5 separate regions of the Homo sapiens genome follow, and regions 1, 2, 3 and 5 are each linked to region 4. The links are contacts of gene promoters, found by promoter capture Hi-C in blood cells and fetal thymus (Javierre and others, 2016). All regions are on one chromosome and are shown on one strand. The core of a region is centred on a gene start or on the middle of the fragment in contact, and the rest is flanking DNA. Distances in the headings are between cores, read along the strand shown. Region 1 overlaps IL18 (interleukin 18). Region 2 has its middle 36 kb from the start of IL18. Region 3 overlaps DLAT (dihydrolipoamide S-acetyltransferase). Region 4 holds the start of HSPB2 (heat shock protein family B (small) member 2). Region 5 has its middle 14 kb from the start of SDHD.

The links. The method cuts DNA at HindIII sites, captures the fragments that hold promoters and counts their contacts. A CHiCAGO score of 5 or more calls a contact.
Region 1: a fragment that was not itself captured here is called in contact with the fragment with the promoter of HSPB2 in region 4 in 1 of 17 cell types (erythroblasts); the score reaches 6.9 in erythroblasts.
Region 2: a fragment that was not itself captured here is called in contact with the fragment with the promoter of HSPB2 in region 4 in 1 of 17 cell types (neutrophils); the score reaches 5.5 in neutrophils.
Region 3: a contact is called between a fragment that was not itself captured here and the fragment with the promoter of HSPB2 in region 4, in 14 of 17 cell types (naive CD4 T cells, naive CD8 T cells, total CD8 T cells and 11 more). The highest score is 8.4, in naive CD4 T cells.
Region 5: a fragment that was not itself captured here is called in contact with the fragment with the promoter of HSPB2 in region 4 in 1 of 17 cell types (activated CD4 T cells); the score reaches 5.3 in activated CD4 T cells.

The regions. Positions count from the first base shown.
Region 1 is chr11:112,147,877-112,150,576 of GRCh38, forward strand. IL18 (interleukin 18) reads right to left here. Exons shown (of 6, transcript NM_001562.4): 4 at 2,196-2,330; 5 at 727-860. Among named protein-coding and RNA genes, the nearest start is that of IL18, 15 kb to the right of the region's middle. The HindIII fragment of the contact is 2,063 bases long and covers 237-2,299 here.
Region 2 is chr11:112,127,090-112,129,789 of GRCh38, forward strand. No RefSeq gene overlaps it. Among named protein-coding and RNA genes, the nearest start is that of IL18, 36 kb to the right of the region's middle. The HindIII fragment of the contact is 2,155 bases long and covers 282-2,436 here.
Region 3 is chr11:112,062,201-112,064,900 of GRCh38, forward strand. It overlaps DLAT (dihydrolipoamide S-acetyltransferase), which reads left to right. Exons shown (of 14, transcript NM_001931.5): 14 at 206-2,204. The coding sequence ends at 335. It also overlaps a transcript of PIH1D2 not described here. Among named protein-coding and RNA genes, the nearest start is that of PIH1D2, 10 kb to the right of the region's middle. The HindIII fragment of the contact is 1,127 bases long and covers 790-1,916 here.
Region 4 is chr11:111,911,484-111,914,183 of GRCh38, forward strand. It overlaps HSPB2 (heat shock protein family B (small) member 2), which reads left to right and starts at 1,251. Exons shown (of 2, transcript NM_001541.4): 1 at 1,251-1,440; 2 at 1,958-2,610. The coding sequence starts at 1,347. The coding sequence ends at 2,412. It overlaps CRYAB (crystallin alpha B), which reads right to left and starts at 287. Exons shown (of 3, transcript NM_001289808.2): 1 at 41-287. The coding sequence starts at 241. HSPB2-C11orf52 (HSPB2-C11orf52 readthrough (NMD candidate)) reads left to right here and starts at 1,253. Exons shown (of 5, transcript NR_037651.1): 1 at 1,253-1,440. RefSeq lists an enhancer at 2,002-2,655. The HindIII fragment of the contact is 6,880 bases long and covers 330-2,700 here.
Region 5 is chr11:112,099,486-112,102,185 of GRCh38, forward strand. No RefSeq gene overlaps it. Among named protein-coding and RNA genes, the nearest start is that of SDHD, 14 kb to the left of the region's middle. RefSeq lists a silencer at 286-494. The HindIII fragment of the contact is 205 bases long and covers 1,215-1,419 here.

The DNA of each region.
Region 1 (2,700 bases), core at 18-2,517, 240 kb after region 4:
GCTACTCTTACTGGCTCAGTCTGTAGCTATAGTTAATTGTGGTTTATCTAACAATAATGGAGGAAATAGAGAAAAATAATAGAGAATAATAATGGAGAATAATAGAGAAAAAGTAGAGGCCAGAAATACTTTATACCTGGCTTGAAGATAATTATAGCATTACTTTTACAGCTGATCTCATAACTTTTATTCAATTAGATTAACATTAAAAATAACATACATCAACTGGAAGCTGAAGCTTGTGTCTAAGACTTAGGCTAAGGATCAGCAACAAAACAACTAGGGATTAAAATATTATCATAATTTACAAAGGTGTAGAAATATAGAAGGATAATTAGCTTCATTCTTCATAGCAGAACTCATTCTGGAAAGTCACATGTTATTCTTAAATGTATAACTCACATATGTATTCTACATTATTATTTGTATAAAGACTGATTGTTCAGGAGATGCAGGTCATAAAACAAGTGTTGTATCTCCTCTTCCCTGTGACAGGCTCAGAAAAACCATCATTATCACAATAGGTAAAGAGTTTGATAATTTTTAGTAAGTATTCATTTTAATGGTTCTCTGCTTCTTGTTATTTCTGTTCTAGACAAAAGGTTGGTCTGAGGATATTTGAGTTTTCTAATTACATTACTTATATTAACATTAGAAATAATGTTATATTTCTAATTATATTAATTATATTAACATGATTGAAAACAAAGTAAGGCTCAGTCTTACCTTAAAGGAAATAATTTTGTTCTCACAGGAGAGAGTTGAAATTTTCTCACACTTCACAGAGATAGTTACAGCCATACCTCTAGGCTGGCTATCTTTATACATACTTATAATAAATATGGTCCGGGGTGCATTATCTGAAATAAATATAATAAATGAGAACTCTAGTTAGAAGAATTCTTGCACAGGAACATTTGCGGAAATTTAACCAAAGGATAGTCCTTAATACACCTGTTCCCACTTTGAGACTTGGCCAGTCTGCAGGAGACTATGTACAGCTGGTCAGACATTTTTAAAAACACAGTTCAGGCCTGGCACAGTGGCTCATGCCTGTAATCCCAGCATTTAAAAGTTAAAAACAACCTTTTATAATCTATATCATTATACTCATAAAAGTTGCAGCATGTGTGTTGTAACACATATTAAACTGTGGGGTTGTTTGTTTGTTTGGGAGGCTGAGGCAGGCAGATCACTTGAGGTTAGGGGTTTGAGACCAGCCTGGCCAACATGGTGAAACCCCAGCTCTACTAAAAATACAAAAATTAGCCGGGTGTAAGTGGTGCATGCCTGTAATCCCACCTACTCGGGAGACTGAGGCATGAGAATCGCTTGAACGTGGGAGGTGGAGGTTGTAGTGAGCCGAGATCACACCACTGCACTGCACTGCACTTCAGCCTGGGTGACAGAGTGAAACTGCATCTCAAACAAACAAACAACCCCACAGTTTAATGTGTATTACAACACACACGCTGCAACTTTTTTGAGTATTTTAAAGATATGAATTCTAAAAGATTGTTTTTAACTTTTAAATGCTAAATAAAATATTTAAAATATATGTTAAGGTAAGTATTCAGTATTTTTAAAGAATGCACATTCACTGCTTCAACTCAGCCTAACTTTGATATTTGGAATTCATATTTTGGAAGGCACAGTAGACTTGATCATTTTCTTTTCTTAAGTTTTTTTTTTTTTTTTTTTTTTTTTAATTTTAGAGACAAGGTCTGTATATCACCCAGGCTGGAGTGCAGTGGCTATTCACAGGTACGATCACAGTGTACTACAGCCTCAAAGTCCTGGCCTCAAGCAATCCTCCTGCTTGAGCCTCCCAAGTAGCTAGGATTACAGATAGATGCCACCACACCTGGTAAACTATCAGCATTTTCAGCTGTAACAAGCAGGGATTAAGCATCCAACTATAGAGGTTTTAAACAGTTAATGCAATCACAATAAAGGGATTGGTGATTCAAAGGCAGGCTCAGAGAGGCATGACCCCTAGCAATGTCTTATTGTATCCAATTTTTTACCCCAACTAAAAAACGTGGATGCCTTATAAAGTTTCCTGTAAGTGAAATTATTGTCACTCCTGTGACTTTTCATCTGAGGATTGGGACTAGCACGGAACAATGTAAGCAGTAAAACAGAATGGGAAGAAGTAGCTAGTCATTTCTATGTTTGCGAATTAAAAAAAATACCTCTACAGTCAGAATCAGTCATATCTTCAAATAGAGGCCGATTTCCTTGGTCAATGAAGAGAACTTGGTCATTCAAATTTCTTATGACTGATAATTTAGATTCAAGCTTGCCAAAGTAATCTGATTCCAGGTTTTCTACAATAAACATTAAATCTCATTTAAAAATACATAGTTTCTTTGTTAATTGACAAATAAGTATGCTATATATTTTAGTTTTCTAAAACTATTAATGACAATCTTCTGTTCCAGAAGTAGCTACAATAAAGTTGCCTATTGTTTTTTAACCTACTCTCAAAGGCACACTCAATTTCTTGTTACCATTCAGAACTACTCTGCCTCTGAAGTGTTAACTTCAAATAGCCTACTTTCTGACCGGTCTCTTACCCTTCTAGTTTTCTTACACTTTTACTCCAACTCTATGTGTTCTTAAATTTCACAACATCTTCCAGTCTCCTGACTCTTGTATTTCCTATCTAACCTCTTCCCGTCTTCCCTTCCTTCCCTG
Region 2 (2,700 bases), core at 109-2,608, 220 kb after region 4:
CACTGCCTCCTAACTGGTCTCTCTGCTTCCACCTTTGCCCAACTCAAATCCATTCTCTTCCCAGTGGCCAGAATAATCTTTCAGAAACATAAATCAGATTGCATAATTCCCCCAACTTAAAGCCCTGTGTTGGCATTTAGATAAAATCCATACCCCATTCTTGAGTCCACAAAGACTCTGACCAAACCACAACTGCCTCTCCCACCTCATTTATGGCCACTCTCCCTTCTGCCAAATCTCCCCTGGCCACAGGAGCCATTTTCTCTGCTTCCTACACTCCAAGCTTGCTCCAGCCTCAGGACCTTTGCACCAGCTATTCTCTGTGCCGAGAATGCTCATCCTCATAATCTTGGCATGGGAGATCTTGTCTTGGCTTTCACATCTTAGTTTAACCATCACCTCTTCATAGAGGTTCTTTTTTGTTTTTGTTTTGTTTTGTTTTTGTTTTTGAGATGGAGTCTCACTCTGTCACCCAGGTTGGAGTGCAGTGGTGCGAACTCGGCTCACTGCAATGTCTGCTTCCTGGGTTCAAGCAATTCTTCTGCCTCAGCCTCCTGAGTAGTTGGGATTACAGGTGCCTGCCACTACGCCTGGCTAATTTTTGTATTTTTAGTAGAGACAGGTTTCACTGTGTTGGCCAGGCGGGTCTCGAACTCCTGACCACGTGATCCACCCGCCTCGGCCTCCCAAAGTGCTGGGATTACAGGCATAAGCCACCACGCGCAGCCTTCACTGAGGTTCTTAATTTTTCAGATAGCATTTTGTGTTATCTGATTTTTGGATCTTTAAAACATTCTGTCTACATGTCATTTTCCCCCTACTAGAATGTAAGTTCCTTGGGAACAGGGATCTTTCTCTGTTATTTTCTGAATACTTAGTGCCTTGAAAAGAGCTTGGCTTATAGTAGGTGCTCAATAAATATTTGTCAGATGCATGAAAGGCATTTTAATACTTCTTGTTAAATTGGGGTCGGGTGTGATGGCTCATGCCTATAATCCCAGTGCTTTGGGAGGCCAAGGTGGGTGGATCACTTTGAGCTCAGGAGTTTGAGACCAGCCTGGCAAACATGGCAAAACCCCATCTCTACTAAAAATACAAAAAATTAGAGGGGTTTGGTGGCATGTGCCTGTAGTCCCAGCTACCCCAGAGGCTGAGGCAGGAGAATCGCTTGAACCCCAGAGGTGGAGGTTGCAGTGAGCCCAGACTGTACCACTGCACTCTAACCTGGGCCACACCACGAGACACTCGGTCTAAAAAAAAAAAAAGAAAAAAAAATTAGTTTGTCTTCTTCTACCTAAGGGTGAAAATAACATGTGAGCTTCAAGATTCAATGCATGGCTTCCAACCCTGATGGGCTAGCTGGAGAGTGGTGGAGTGAGAAGACAAGGTGGCAGACCCAAGGTGGATTGTCAGATGGCAGAGATGGGAAGACACCAGGAAACCAGGCTCATATTTTCATGGAACCACTGGCTGCTGAAGCCTGTGACTTTGGCAGGCAGCCCAGGGTGAATCACTACTTAGATGAATGAGGAGATTCTGCTTTGTCCCTGACACTTCAAATTGTTATTCCTTCCTTAAGCAATTTATGGGCACTCCCATAGACTCTCTAGCCTTTGGAGCCTTTGCATTAGGAGCTTGATTTATGGATATCTGTATAGTTACAGGAAATAATGTCGTATAAAAGGCATTTAATATGGAGGGGCTTTATGACCCCTTGCTTGGGTGTAACCATCCCTGTCAGGGTGCCAGGAGAGAAGGGTGGAGCCTTTTTGGATGCTGGGAAGTGAGGGTGTGAGGTGTTATCCAGGTGGGAAAGGCATGCTGAGAGGGAGGGCCCCTGTGTGGTTCTGAACACTGTGCTCCATCCACACAGCCCTCCTCGGGGGCTGGGTGCAGCAGCTGTTGGAGTTCTTTCTTCACAGTAAATATTTAACCACGTAAGATGCCCAGGCTACCAGCCACTGCTAAGTGACAGGCAAAATCCTAAGCCACAGATGTTGCCCTCTGGCTCTCAGCTCAGAGAGCTGAGGCTGTTGACTGGAGTCCTCAGAACTTCAGAGAGCTTGGAAGTTTGTGCATTTCATCAACTGACTTGCTTTGTCTGCCAGAAAGCATTAAGCCTCAGAATTTATACCTTCCCTTCTTCATTCATTTGTGTATATTCATACATTGAGCACCTGCTCTGGTCCGGGTTCTGCGCTTAGGTGATTGGGATACATCAGTGAATAAAACAGACAAAGGTCTCTGCCTCTGGGACCCAACGTTCTACCAAGGAAGAGGGACAATAAACAATGAGCATACTATATATATTAATTATATGTAAACATTATATATTATAAGGTGATGGGCCTATAGATGAAAAATAATGTGGTGTAAAGGGAACTAGAATGTGTGGAGGTGGGACGGGGCAGGTTATGGTATTAAATAGCCAGGGTAAGCTTCACTGAACAAGTGAGATTTCATCAGCATCCTGAAGGAGATGAGGAATTTGTCAAATGGACCTCTGAGGGGAGAGAATTACAGGCAGAGAAAATAACTAGGCCCCAAGCTGGAAGTACGCTTAGAGTGTCAGAGCAACAGCAAGACCGGTGTGGCTGAAGCAGGCTGAATGAAGACTAGAGAAGTAGGAGACAAAATTGGAGTGGGAACTGGGAACTGGGGACCAGGCAGTCAATGGGGACCAGAGGTTGCTGGGCCTTG
Region 3 (2,700 bases), core at 103-2,602, 150 kb after region 4:
TTTGGCCCATTGCCCACCCATACTCCAGGTATCTGGTCTGTTTCTTCAAGCTATAAATTTGAGCTAAAGGTATAGGAGACTGGAAGAGTAGATAGGAAGTATTACCTGGTTGGGATTATAGGGTAGGAGTGAGCATTTGGGTGGTTACTGGCTGAAATGCAGTATTTTCTTTCAGAATATCTAAAATGTCTTTATCTTTTTCTAGGTTTGATGTGGCTAGCATGATGTCTGTTACACTCAGTTGTGATCACCGGGTGGTGGATGGAGCAGTTGGAGCCCAGTGGCTTGCTGAGTTTAGAAAGTACCTTGAAAAACCTATCACTATGTTGTTGTAACTAACTCAAGAATTTCTAAACTCTCCCAGGTCACACTGATTCATTCTTAACAAGATATTTATATGTTATTAAACAGGTGGTTCTTTTTATTTTAACCAGTTATTTTTATTATTGAGTCTGTCCAGATAAGTTATTTATAATGGGCATTACTGAATTTTTAAAATGCCGATTACACCCAAATATTGTGCACATTTAATAATCAGACACCAGATTTTTAGCTCTGTACTCCTAATTAAGGGACATGTATGTGGCCTTGCCTAGCCCTTTGGTGATAAGTACTTCCTCTAGGAAATGTACGATAGGTAGAATTGTGGTTCCCTAAAGACAAGTACATAAAGGTGACCCTGATGAAACCTTGAAGTTCTGAAATTTAACTGCCTAAAATGTTCTCCTTAGATGTGAGAGAAAGAGAAATCAGAAAAATTAATTCTCTTGGGGGAAGGGCTTGAATTGAAGCTTTACTTTAGAATTTAGCCCTGGTTTGAAATTTTCCATTACATGATCTTGGTTTATCATCGATGGGAAGGGTAGAAAACTTCAAGGAAAATAAGTGAAATTTTAAAAGTCAGCATTTTCTTAGACCTCTTCAGCTGATTGTTTATTTTTCTATGAATTCCTACACATGGTTATTCCCCCCTACTTGAGATAATCTAAATATAAACCAGCTACTTGATGTAACTGAGAATTTGTGTGGATATTTATTTAAACAAATGTGTAATTTTGAGTACAGAATTCAACAGTTACCTCCAAAAAAGAAACATTGTTAATATAATTTAACAGAAGTTGTGAAACTAAAATTTTCTAAGATTAACTGGTAGTTCATTGTAAATGAACATAATGAACAGAATTTATGACTCCACTGTGGAAAATGCTATCAAATAACTAAGGAATATATATGGAATAAGTGTACATATGTAAAATATTGTTACTAGAGTTAGATATGTGCCAAAGTCCATTTATCCCAAATCCTGTCTGAAAAGGAGGGGTACATTGGTAAACATTTTGGAGTGCTTAAAAATGCCAAAAACAAAATGGTAATTTCTACTTTGATAAAGTAAAAAAGTTAAATGTGTGTAAAAAAGTGTTCTGTGTCCTTCTACTCCAGCATCGTCTCATGTAAAATAAGAAAGCCCTAAAATACTATTGGAGAGAAAAAATTAACTAGGTTGCTACTTTATTTGCCTAAATACTTTTTTCTATTTTGTTAGATTTTGCCTTTCTTTTGGAAGGAAGGAGGCGATATTCTGGATTATAAAAATGAATTGGGAACATTATCACAATTCCAGACTTTCTATTAATATTTATGTGTTTTAATAAACGTTTGAAATTATTTATGACTACTTAAAATGAATCTGACCAGTGCTTCCTGGTATATGTAATATGTGGAGTTAGCCCCTGAAATTTGCTTTAAGTGTTTCAGTGTTGAATCTGTTTCTAAATATTCATTATTACATGGTACACAAGTGACACTCCATATATTCCACACAGACTTTTACCTTGCTGTATTATTATGAAAACAATACATTAATTTGATTTTTCAGTAATTAGTAATTTTAGGTTGAAGATTATCCAAAAGAAACAAGCTTATCACAAGGGACCATCATCAATATGATCCAAATCTGGTTCAAACATTCAAAACTTCAAAGATAATTCATCTTTCGCTAATGCTTGTGGTTCTGTTGTTCCCTTGAAAAAAAATAAAAACAGTTGCCTTCTAATAAACATTGTTGAGTTAAAAATTAATCTGAGCTATAATCTAAATCGATTCAGTCTCTTACCAGAACTGAAAGAAAAAAGTTAGAAATAGTGTTTTTGGTTCATATGATTATTTAAAAATTAAAGTATAAATCTTCAATATGTCTGGTTTAATTTTTGGTCTGTTGGTAATTATTTTCACATTTAAATTATTTAGATCTAGGGACAGCCATGTATGTATAAGCTCTCAATACAGATAAATTTTGAGTTTATATAATTGGCAAAATATGGACTACATTTAGGAGAATATAATCTAACACTTTTAAGCTCAAAGAGTTCCTGAAGCACCCCATGTTGGGGTGTGGCACTTATTATCAAGATGGAAAGTGTGGTCTGGTTCTGTTAGGTGATTTATTCCCAATTCTGAAGCTTGTGATTGTGAAGTTAGGGTATCCCAAGGCATGGTCTAGAAAGGAGTAAACCAGCACATTAGAGAGATAGGAGGAATGTTCATCATGTGTAATGCACAAGTCCTGGAATACATGGGGAAATCATCATCACTACTGGTAAGTGATCTAAAAATGAAGTCTGTAGAAAAATCTGGTCTCCAAATTTTTTTTTTTTTTTTTTTTGAGATGGAGTCTGTGTCGCCCAGGCTGGAGTCCAGTGG
Region 4 (2,700 bases), core at 1-2,500:
CCAGTAAGGACTCTCCCGTCCTAGCTGTGGGGAGACTCACCTCTGAGAGTCCAGTGTCAAACCAGCTGGGTGCCCGCAGGAAGGAGGGTGGCCGAAGGTAGAAGGGACTCAGGGAAGTAGACGTCGGGAAAAGATCAGACTCCAACAGGTGCTCTCCGAAGAACTGGTCAAAGAGGCGGCTGGGGGAGTGGAAAGGAAAGAAGGGGCGGCGGATCCAGGGGTGGTGGATGGCGATGTCCATGGTGGCTAGGTGAGTGTGAGGGGTCAGCTGGCTGGTCAGCTCCTTCAGCTGCAGCTACAGCCAGCCCCTTATATATGCAGTCTTGTGAAGCTTCTGGAATGGTGATGTCAGGGGTTTTATTATCCTAGCTCACCAGCAGTTCATGGAGACTTGTGATCCGGGATTTGGCAATGTGACACATACCCAGTACTCACTGAGCTAAGAAAAGAGAGACACAAACACGTCTGAGCCGGCCAGTGACTTGTCATGGTCTTGTTTCACTAGCTTTCTGTCCACACCCAATGGCACCCACCCCCACCCCTGTTCTCTGAAGCTGGTACAGAGTCAGGAATCCCAAGCAGGCACGCGGGGTGGGGGGAGGATGGGAGCCGGCGTAGTGTGCCCCTCCTCCTCCTTTCCAGTCCTGAATGCCAGGGGAATCAGGCCAGCAACTATCTTGGGCCTGGGCAGGGACTGGAATCTTCCTAGGCTGAGCCCCAGGGACATTAACTCTTTGTGAGTCCTTGGAAGAGAGCAGTGATGGTCAACATGTCAGCACCAGCCATCTGCCTCGTGCCCTGGGTTGACCTGGGTTTAGGAGAGGATCCCACATCTGGGCAGAAAGACCCCACCCCCTGAAAAAAGAGCAAACAGATTTCTTGCATCTTTCGTTCTATGTGGCTCTCAGAACATTAAATCCAGGAGTGCTTTAGGAATTGGGTGCACAGTGCCTGCCACCGAAGAGGAGAAAATGAGGTGTGGAAACGTGCAAACCGTTTGTGAGGGTCTCAGCGAGGCCTCTTCATGCCCCAGGCACCACCAGCTCCCCCTCCCCAGCTCGTTCCCAGCCAGGACCCTCAGCTGTCCTCTCAGGCCCCCTGCGACAGCTGAAGAGTGTGCGGGGGAGGGGACTAGGGGTCCGGGCGGCGCTGGTCACACCCTCGTTGCTCTCACTCAGGGCCCCCACTCCCAGCCCCTCCCCCCCCAAGAGGCTCGGCACTATTTTGGGTGGTGTCGACCCCGCCCCCACCTCCTATCGAGCCCTGGCTCTCCGGGCAGCTGGAGGGGTCGCGCTGCGCCTGTTGGGGCTGCACCTCGGACCAGGGCTTCTGCTGCATCTGCAGCCATGTCGGGCCGCTCAGTGCCACATGCCCACCCGGCCACCGCCGAGTACGAATTTGCCAACCCGAGCCGCCTGGGTGAGCAGCGCTTCGGAGAAGGTATGGCACAGACACCACCCCCTTGCCCCCCACCCCCACCCCCTGAAATTCTGGGCTGACCTCCCAACGTTGCTGGCCTCCACCCCACTCTGGGCTTAACTGATCTCCTGGGACCAGCCACCCCCCACCCCAGACTACCCCTCATCCCCTCCAAGCAGAGATCTTTCCCATTCCTGCTGACCTCAAGACACACTTGGTGCTTGCAGTGCTGATACCTGCTCTTTGCCGGCCTGGGTGTGCCTCCTTGTCCCCCTTCTATCCACCCAGGCCGTTTGGTGCCTCCTCCTCCTCCCCCTCCTCCTCCTTCTCCTCCTCCTCCTCCCTTTCCTTTCCGTTCTCTTTCCCCTCTTCCGAGCTGCCTTCTCCTCCTAGCTACAGTGTGGCCTCCCTCCCGTTCCCTACTCCTCCTGACTCCCCTCTTGCTCTTCCCAATCCCTCCTCTCCAGATTTCCCATTTCGCCCCTGTGCCAGCCTCATCCTCCCTCATCCTGCCTCTTGCCTTCTCTCTGCCCTTTAGGCCTCCTGCCAGAAGAGATCCTGACCCCCACACTCTACCATGGCTACTATGTCCGGCCTCGGGCCGCCCCAGCTGGGGAGGGCAGCAGGGCAGGGGCCTCCGAGCTTAGGCTCAGTGAGGGCAAGTTCCAGGCATTTCTGGATGTGAGCCACTTTACCCCAGACGAGGTGACTGTGAGGACTGTGGATAACCTGCTGGAGGTGTCTGCCCGGCACCCCCAGCGCCTGGACCGCCACGGCTTCGTGTCCCGAGAGTTCTGCCGCACCTATGTCCTGCCTGCTGATGTCGACCCCTGGCGAGTCCGAGCTGCTCTCTCCCATGATGGCATCTTAAACCTGGAAGCACCTCGGGGTGGCCGACATTTGGACACAGAGGTCAATGAGGTCTACATCTCCCTGCTCCCTGCGCCTCCTGATCCAGAGGAAGAGGAGGAGGCAGCCATAGTTGAGCCCTGATTGCCACAGACCCAGCACCCAGCAAATCCCTCTCTACCTCCCAAGGTGATATGGGCAGCTGCCCACCACTCCAGAGGTAGCAGCATCCTTGGGGGAAGGGAAAGGTGCATGGTCCACAATGTATGGTTTGGTCCCATGGGACATGTCATAGCCTTGGTTTAGTTTTGGGTGGAGCTGAATAAACCCAAATCTCAGGGCCTTGTTTGTACTGCTCCCTATTCTGTGGCCGGGAAGCTGGGATGGGGAGGGAGGGAGGAGGTCACAGCCAGCTAGACAAAAAGCTCCTCA
Region 5 (2,700 bases), core at 67-2,566, 190 kb after region 4:
AAGCTCCGCCTGCCAGGTTCACACCATTCTCCCACCTCAGCCTCTGGAGTAGCTGGGACTACAGGCGCCTGCCACCATGCCCGGCTAATTTTGTTTTCATATTTTTAGTAGAGACGGGGTTTCACCGTGTCAGCCAGGATGGTCTTGATCTCCTGACCTCATGATCCGCCTGCCTCGGCCTCCCAAAGTGCTAGGATTACAGGCATGAGCCACCACGCCTAGCCATTATTATATTTTTTTGAGTCAGAATCACGCTCTGTTGTCCAGGTTGGAGTGCAGTGGCGTGATCAAACTCACTGCAGCCTTGATCTCCTGTGCTCAAGTGATCCTCCCACCTCAGCCTTCTGAAAGTAGCTGGGATTACAGACTTGTGCCACCATGCCTAGCTAATTTTTTTGATTTTTAGTAGAGATGAGGTCTCACTGTGTTGCCCAGGCTGGTCTCAAACTCCTGAGCTCAAGTAATCCACCTGCCTTTGCCTCCCAAAGTGCTTGCATTATATGCTTGCGCCACCATGTCTGGCCGGATTCTAGTTTTAAGAAGGTGGCACATAGGCCAGGAGAAAAGCTTAGGGCTCAAACCAGGGAGTTAGAATGAAGATTCCCCTAAACCAAGAACCATAAAGAGTTTTGCCCTCAGAGAAAGGGTGAATTAGAAAAAATGATATTTGCTCACACCTGTAATCCCAGCACTCTGGGAGGCCGAGGCGGGTGGATCATCTGAGGTTGGGAGTTCGAGACCATCCTGACCAACAGAGAGAAACCCTGTCTCTACTAAAAATACAAAAAAAAAAAAAAAAAAAAGGGCCGGGCGTGGTGGTGGGTGCCTGTAATCCCAGCTACTCGGGAGGCTGAGGCAGGAGAATTGCTTGAACCCGGGAGGCAGAGGTTGCGGTGAGCTGAGATCACACCATTACACTCCACCCTGGGCAACAAGAGTGAAACTCCATCCCCCCCAAAAGAAAAACTGATATTTATCTGAAAAAGCAGAGAGCAGAGCAATGTGTGTATCTTGCCTTGGCTCAGGTTGGAGGAAAGAGTCTCTTCTGAGAATGTGTGGCTAAGAGCCAGTCCTCATGCCAGTTTGGAGTCCGAGTTCAAGTTACCTGCATATCTAAAAAGGTTACATGGGGCAAATTTAACTTTGACCTAGGTTTGTAGGGCATGGTAGTCAGCACAAATCCTCACCAGAGAGAGAAGGGTTACCCCAACACAAGCTTCAAAAATCCCCATAAAGTTCCAGTGAACGTGAACTGTCAGCAAAAATCACAGTACTGGAATGTCCTGAGCAAGAGTCAGCACAAATAAACAGAACCATACCCACAAAGAATTCAGACCCTGGAATTTTCAGATACACATTATAAACATAAGATGAGATATAAGTCTAAATATAAGTCAGCTTTCTGCTCAGGGATCAGAAAGCTTTTGGAGAGAGTGGTATATACTTGATGTTATCGTCTCAATTCATAGAATCTTAAAAAGTAGATGTCTACTTAGGAGAGTTTTCTCCTCTGGACACCTGATAATGAGTGTCAGGGTCAATTCCCAGTGGGGCTGAATGTTCAGTTTCTGAGACCTAAGCACCACTGTGAAGCATGTATCCATGACTATGGGCCTGGAGCTTCAGAACGGTGTCTATGAGATTAAAATACCCAAATGGTCATTTCCAATGTGGTTCTAACTCTAACTTTCATCAGTGACTGTTTCTAAACTAGTCTTCCAGGCCAGGTGCAGTGGCTCATGCCTGTAATCCCAGCACTTTGGGAGGCCGAGGCAGGCGGATCGCCTGAGGTCAGGAATTCGAGACCAGCCTGGCCAACATGGTGAAACCCTGTCTCTACCAAAATATACAAAAATTAGCCGGGTGTGGTGGCATGCGCCTGTATAGTCCTAGCTACTTGGGAGATTGACGCGGGAGAATTGCTTGAACCCAGGAAGTGGAGGTTGCAGTGAGCTGAGATTGCGCCACTGCACTCCAGCTTGGGTGACAGAGTGAGACCCTGTCTCAAACATATAAATATAGGGCCTGGCACAGTGACTCACGCCTGTAATCCCAGCACTTTGGGAGGCTGAGGCAGGTGGATCACCTGAGGTCAGGAGTTTGAGACCAGCCTGGCCAACATGGTGAAACCCCGTCTCTACTAAAAATACAAATATTAGCCTGCCATGGTGGCTTATGCCTGTAGTCCCAGCTACTCAAGAGGCTGAAGCAGGAGAATTGCTTGAACCCGGGAGGCGGAGGCTGCAGTACGCCAAAATCATGTCACTGCACTCCAGCCTGGGCAACAGAGTGAGACTCAGTCTCAATAAATAATAATATAATATAATATAAATATAAATAAAAAACTAGTCTTTCAGTTGTAGATTATGCTGGTGATGATGGGAGACACAATGTATCTATTGGTATTCTTTTGAGAAACAGAGTTTGTAAATTGGGCATAAGACTATGTATATGAGATTCATTTTTGAAAAAATACAAGATTACTACATACCAAGGATGAAATCTGTTACGGGATGTGTCAAGCCCAGCCTCATAGAGTGTTTCTATAATAGTTTAATATGAAAGCTTATGAAGATTTTAAGAAGTAAATTGCAATATCATCAGGCCTATGTATAAAACTTAAAAACGTAAAACTAAGGGAGGCTGGGCGCGGTGGCTCATACCTGTAATCCCATCACTTTGGGAGGCTGAGGCGGGCGT